Linked DNA regions of Homo sapiens: region 2 is linked to region 1. Evidence: promoter capture Hi-C in 16 types of primary human blood cells and fetal thymus (Javierre and others, 2016). All regions are on one chromosome and are shown on one strand. Each heading gives the region's core, a stretch centred on a gene start or on the middle of the fragment in contact. The rest is flanking DNA. Distances are from core to core; before and after follow the strand shown. Region 1 holds the start of ICE2 (interactor of little elongation complex ELL subunit 2). Region 2 has its middle 11 kb from the start of BNIP2.

What was found. Contacts are between HindIII fragments. The CHiCAGO score rates a contact against its expected background, and 5 or more counts as called.
Region 2: a fragment that was not itself captured here is called in contact with the fragment with the promoter of ICE2 in region 1 in 3 of 17 cell types (fetal thymus, M2 macrophages and monocytes); the score reaches 5.8 in fetal thymus.

Annotation. Positions count from the first base shown.
Region 1 is chr15:60,477,625-60,480,929 of GRCh38, reverse strand. ICE2 (interactor of little elongation complex ELL subunit 2) reads left to right here and starts at 1,788. Exons shown (of 16, transcript NM_024611.6): 1 at 1,788-1,927; 2 at 2,861-2,993. The coding sequence starts at 2,953. It overlaps RORA-AS1 (RORA antisense RNA 1), which reads right to left and starts at 1,752. Exons shown (of 6, transcript NR_120342.1): 1 at 1,532-1,752. RefSeq lists enhancers at 1,987-2,514, 2,837-2,956. The HindIII fragment of the contact is 13,398 bases long and covers 1-3,305 here.
Region 2 is chr15:59,698,931-59,702,422 of GRCh38, reverse strand. No RefSeq gene overlaps it. Among named protein-coding and RNA genes, the nearest start is that of BNIP2, 11 kb to the right of the region's middle. The HindIII fragment of the contact is 1,672 bases long and covers 962-2,633 here.

The sequences.
Region 1 (3,305 bases), core at 539-3,038:
CCAACCCCTTTTCCTCTACTACTCTTCAGAGACCTTGCATTCCAGGCAAAATAAACTACCTATGGTTTCCTGTAGCATATTTTTTACATTAACATAATTTCTAACAATATTCTAAATCAGTCTAAAATGTCAGCCAGGGGTAGTGGCTCACACCTGTAATCCCAGCACTTAGGGAGGCCAAGGTGGGCAGATCACTTGAGGTCAAGAGTTAAAGATCACCCTGGCAAACCCCATCTCTACTAAAAAAAAAATACAAAAATTAGCCAAGTGTGGTGGCATGCACTTGTAGTCCCAGCTACTAGGGAGACTGACGCAGGAGAATCGCTTGAACCCAGGTGGCAGAAGTTGCAGTGAGCTGAGATCACACCACTGCACTCCAGTCTGGGAGACTCTGTCTTAAAATAAAATGTAGAACATGCTTCCCTAATAGCACACACTAGATTCTGTTTATGCAATAAGTTTATGCAGTTCCTTGTATTAAAAAAAATTATAGGAGGCCATTGTTTAGAACTTCTGCACTAGACCCCAAGAGACCAGACTAAAATAAAAATGGTATCACTCAGGCTCACCACACCGAAACTGAGTTATGTGGCCCTCCAAGAAATCAGGAGACAGAGGTAACAGGCCAGTTTCAATTTTCAATCAGCAAGATAATGAATTTCCTCTGTTTTAGTCCCTACAGCAAAGAGTAACTTGAAGTAACCTGATGTTAACCAATCAGTTATCTTTCTATTGTACTGTCTGTCTCCACCTTACCAGGAAAGTAACTTTGAAATGATCAATCTGCTTTTTGTTCTTTGTTTCTACTTTCTACAGACCTTTTTTCTGTCCGTAATGCCAACCTCCTCTGTTCCACTCATTGGGACACTCATTCCATTTTATGGAATGAAGTGTTGCCTGATTCCAGAATCGCAATAAGGCCAACTGAGATCTTTAGATGTGTCAAATTTTTGTCTTTTGACACTTGTGCTGGTCTGTCTAGAACGCCCTTTCTCTTCATTCCACATACCCACATTCTTCAAATGAGCTCACACGGCAGGTGCTCAGTGCAGCAACTGACATGTAAGTACTCAATACTATTCAAAACTGCGTTTTGTCCCTCACACTAGCTATTCCTCTCCCTCTAACCTCAATCTATACACCTTTCTTATGTAGTTTATTACTTTCTATTGTATTTAATGTAAATGTCTTAGATTGCCAGAGATCCAAAGCACTGGAAAAATCAGTATTCAGTCTTAGTCCATGTGTACCCAGCACCAAGCACAAAGTACTCTGTTTACGGTCAATAAATCTTTCCGTAATGGATGAGAACAAAACTAGTGTTTGAACTCACAGCTAAAACTGGATGGGGAGTGGAGCGGAGGTGAAGGAGCACTTAATGAGGCCCTACTATGTGCCAGGTACTGTGCAGAGCACAGCTTCTTCCTTTGTTTCATTTAATCCTTTCCAAAAAACCGTATGATGCAGCAGTAACAATTTCATCTCCATTTTACATATGAGGAGTTTGGGTTACGGAAGTCAGGAAACTTGCCTGAGGTCACAACCAAGTATGTTTGGGTCTTTCCAGTACCGCACTTGTCGCTTGTCCGCCTTCCAATTTATCACTCCCCTCCTCTCCCCGACGAAGGTCGAGGACTTTCTAGGAAAACACGCAGTCTCCAACCACTTCCGCCTGGCGAGCCCAGTCTCGCACTTCGCTGCCAGAACCACAGCGAGCGCTTGTGGCGGGAGGAAAGGAGGGGAGCAGCCGTCAAGACGCAAGGCCCCGCCCACTATGTCGCTGAGACGTCATCACGCAGGGCCGAGTCGGCGCGGCCACATCCTTTAAATATGGTCTTTTTTGGGCGCGCGCGACAATGTGAGGAGTGGGGTGGAGCGTGTGTGGTGTGTGGCTGCGGCCTGGGCAAGAGCCGCCGCGGACCATGAGGTGGGCGGAAAGGCTGTGTTGCAGCCCAGACGCGGACGGGAGGGCGCTGCCGGGCCAGCGGGCGTGCTCATGCAGGGGCGGGAGGAGGGAACATGGCGGCCGGGCCAGGACCCTTTGCTCCTGGCTCTGCGCGGCTCCTACCCCTGCTTTGCTTGCCCTTTTACCTGCTTTTCTGGAACCTTGTTTCCCCTCTCTTTGCGTCCCCTTTCCCTCAGCCGTTTCTTTTGCCTTCCTCGACTATTCCCCCCCAGCTCCACACTGGGTCGAAGTGTGAGAGGTAGATTAAGTGGGAGCCGGTCGGGCCCGTTCGGTGTCGAGAGACCGACTCCTAAATTTGATTAGGTTCTCGCAGGTCACTTTATCAGTCTGCCTGGGGTCACAGGAGAAGTACTGAACATGAGAGATCAAGCCTGATTTGTAGTCCTGATGATGTCTGTAAGTGATCTTGTGAAATGTCACTTAAGTTGACCTCAAGTCTTCTCAAATGTGAGGTTCTTTGTGAAAGGCCTAAGATTCCTGATATCGAGGTAGCTTTTGTCATAAAGTGCCTGCCAGAATCTGCCCCATAACAAAGCATGGTCGGGAAAACAAAAGATTTATTTTGGCAGTAAGGGAATGGAAAACTGAGTTGACTTCCCGTTCCATGCCATCAAGTGGCCTAGTATGTAAGCAATGAGAACACCGTTCTGTTTCAGCTCTTATTTCCATAGTGAGTGTCCTGAGAGTAACACTCCCGGCGTAGATTAAATGGAAAAGGGCTCGTCCTGTATCGTCATTGCTGCTCTGCTACAAAGAACCTTGGGTCTGCTGTATTCTGTTTTAGGTGCCACAGTCTGTTGAGGGTAGATGTTTAGGGAGAGATTCTTCCTCACCTAATAGCACCTGGCCTAGCCAATCACTTGCTTTTGATCTTGGCCTTTTGTTTTTACTCAGCTGAGTAAGTTCTGGAGGGATCCTGCCTCTTGGAGCCTTCGCAGCCAGGCAGCTGTGAACTGTGAGCTAGAGTGAAGCAGAAATCTAGGAAGATGAGCTCCAAGATGGTCATAAGTGAACCAGGACTGAATTGGTGAGTTGTAGCCACTTTGTAATCCACTGAAGAGGAGTGTAGTGGGGCTGATGGTTGACATAAGAAAATAGATTTCTGGCATAGAGAGATTTGGAGGAAACAGAAAATACAAGTTTAGGGTCTCAGAATTTACCCTATCCTCATCTTCACATACGGAATGCTAGAGTTATGGCTGACTGTACTTCCACTCCTATAGTGGAACAACACAGTTCAGCACTCAAATTATTTTTAGGTATAATTCCCTCAGGTATTTATTGTTGGTCTCCTGTGAAGGAGAGATACTGGAATTTTCTTGAGTCCAAGAACCTTGGC
Region 2 (3,492 bases), core at 548-3,047, 780 kb after region 1:
TTTAAAAAAACTTGATGAGTCATGTTAGTAATAGCCAGTATGCCTTTATAGCTGCACTGAAATTAAAAGTATATTAGATTGTTATATTCCTTATGTATTAAGGTGGTTCATTTTAAAATCTATATGAACACCAGCTATATAACCTCAAGTGTTGATTTTAATGGAAAAAAAGCAGAAAGGTTATTTTAAGTGTTTTAGATGTTAACCTGCCTGATAGATTTTTGTATCTTGGCTTCTCCATAGGAGGGAAAATATTCTGGCTCAGAGAAGTCATCTCTGGGTTGATCAAATCTGGGATGATTCAGATGGATCGTGTTGGGCGAGACAAAAGGCTGCTTACAATAATCCTATCTGCTTGCTGCACACGAGACATACCCAGATCCTTTTAATCCTCATGAGGTCTGATCATATCCTTGCTGGAGCAACCCACAGAAGTTACATGGTTGTGAACTTTTATGAGAGGGGAAAAACTGAAGAATTTCTCTGTGCAAAGGAGTCAAATCAGCGGCAAAATGTGTTACCTTTGTAGGATCAACACAGTTGATCCAGTGAATGGTACTATAGTCCTGAGAAAATGCGGAGAGAAAGTTTAGGTTTAAAAACAATTAACAAGGACAGAAAGGGAGGAGGGAGAAACAAGACAACTTCCTTTCAAGTAGAATCATTTACATAAAACATTACACCTGATAAAGGTGTCTGTCAGTGTGTGGGAGGGTCTGTATTTCTTCAGTTATTCACATCCAGAATGAATTAACTTGACACTAATTGCAGAAGGATTAAATTTATTCAATCTTTATAGACTACTCCTTGACTATTAAAATTAAATGAAGATAAAAATGAATTATTCTTTCCTAGATCAAAAATGAAATACCAAACCATTTTATAAGGGTGTAGGAGAAGATGGGCAGTGAAGACCACAACCTGTGACTTAAAAAAAATAAATAAACAGAAATAAGAAGCTTAATTTTGAATAGATTTGTTAATTTAACAAAAAGATTCCTTATTTAAGAGGTCCCTAGGACACCTTCGGAAATATATTGTACCCTAGCTAGAAGAACCTAAAAATACACACGTTTTTATTAATACTTTACAAATATATATAGCTGAGCCAAGAAATTCATTTGCTAGGGAGTGGTTTTTTTAATAGTCAAAACACAAAAAACAATTATTAAAATGAAAAAAAGAGCAAGTTTCAAGTGATTACATTTCAGCATGTGTTCTCTATACCACCAGGTTGGATAAGGAACTGAAGCAAAAACTATTACAAGAAGAGGCAGTCTTGGCCAGGCGTGGTGGCTCACATCTGTAATCCCAGGACTTTGGGAGGCCGAGGCGGGCAGATCGCTTGAGGCCAGGAGTCCAAGACCATCCTGGCCAACATGGTGAAACTCTGTCTCTACTAAAAATACAAAAATTAACCGGGCATGGTGGCACAGGCCTGTAATCCCAGCTACTCGGGAGGCTGGGGTAGGAGAATTGCTTGAACCTGGGAGGCAGAGGTTGCAGTGAGCAGAGACCACGCCATTGCACTCCAGCTGGGGCAACACAGCGAGACTCCGTCTCAAAAAAAAAAAAAAAAAAGAACAAAAAAGAAGAGGCAGTCTTATAGACAAAACTTTGAAGGAATTCTGCATTTTCAGAATGGGACTTAAACAAAAAACAATCAGTTCAAGGGAATGCCTGAAACTGTCATCTGTTTCTTCATATGTTGTTGCCTGGTTTCTAGTCTTAGGTAACGCAGATAGGAATGAAGTGGGAGGGAGTAGGGGGAGGAGGATCTACAAATTCAATGGTCGGATTGAAATTTTAAAGAAAATTTGCTGATTCTGAGTTCAGGGCTCTTTCACCTATACTGTGCAAACCTGAAAACTGTAAATGCCAAAATACTTTGTAAATATTCAGATTTTTAAAATCTTTCCTATTACCTGGTGTGGAATTATGTACATATTTGGATGGTCTTCTTGTGTTATGCCATTTTTTGAAAAGACAGAATATAGACATGTAAAATATAATTTTCAGATGCTTGTACTTAAACATTCACATAACATTTTAGTGAATTTCTAAAAATCAAGGAAATAATCATCTCAGCTTCAGGCACAATGCTAACTTAGATGAGTCATAGGTACGTCAGAAATTAATGATAAGGAAACAATGTCAGGGGAAGTTAGGTAACTTGCCTAAGGTCACAGAGACTATAGAAAAATAATAATTAAAATGCTTCTCCTAACTCCAACCAAGTTCGCACGCCTTCCATTTTAGCATAAGGTTTATGTGTTGAGCCCTTCTATGAAAAAGAATTGCATTTTAACATGGATCAGTGTCATAAGCTAATTAAGGAAAGATGAATAATGTAATTTCAGGCATCAGTCATCTTACTGATTCAAATCCTGCCCCCATACCTCAAACTACACACAAGGCATATAGATGGAATGGCATCTCATTCATGTATGTGTGTGTTTATGTCTTACATTAAAATCATTCATATTAAATGAGTAATCTGCTAAGGAATTAGTATTCCACTAAAAAAAAAGAATCTAGATGTTAGATATTAAGGATCTTTTAAAGAAGATAATTCATACTAAACTTCGCATTTCATTTCTCCCTATTATGTATATACCTGAAATTGGAAAGCTTTCTTCTTTTTCCTAGTAAGTACAATTTGGTGTTTTAGCAATTGTATTAGGAGAAGGTGTTTCTCCTTCTTTATCATAAAGGAACCACATAAATGAGAAATAATGTTACAATTTTAATATTTTCTTCTCAGTTATACTGAAATTCATTTTTAAAACTCAGTACATTTTTATCAATTTACAGAGTTCCCATGTTTCAAAATACAAACAATAACCTAGATTCTCTCAGCTGAGTAAGTTACTTTTAGGATGTAAACTATTTTTGGAAATATACTTGTAGAACATTTACCCATTGCAACAGTGAATTAGATGCCACCTTTTAATTTTTATATTTGTATTAAATAAAAATGCATGTGCCTTACATAGAGCCATATCAGTGCTTTGTTTTGTTAAATGTAATAAAATTTCCAATTGACCCAACAATTACTTGTGTATTTTGAAATGCATTTGTTTTCTCTAAACAAATAAGATTGCACTTTGACTCTAAAGATGCAGAATGAATGATTAATGCTTTGATGAAGGACAGTGTTATATCTAATTTTGTGTTAATCTGGATAAGGAGACTGAAACTGACCGCAAAACAGTTAGCTTTAGTTGATCAATTCTTACTTCCACTTACCCACCCCAAAAATAATTTAAAAAACATTATCACTACTAAAATTATCAATCAATCAAACAAACTGCTTTTTTCTAATTGGAGGCTATTGCTTATTCATGTTTTTCTAAATATAGTTGATCACAGTGTTACTAACATTTCATATCCTGAAGAACAGAAGAAAGAGCGAAATCTACTTCCCTCATCAAGATTAATCTTTACTTTAATTATAAACCAAGCATGCAGATACTATGTATTAATACTTTT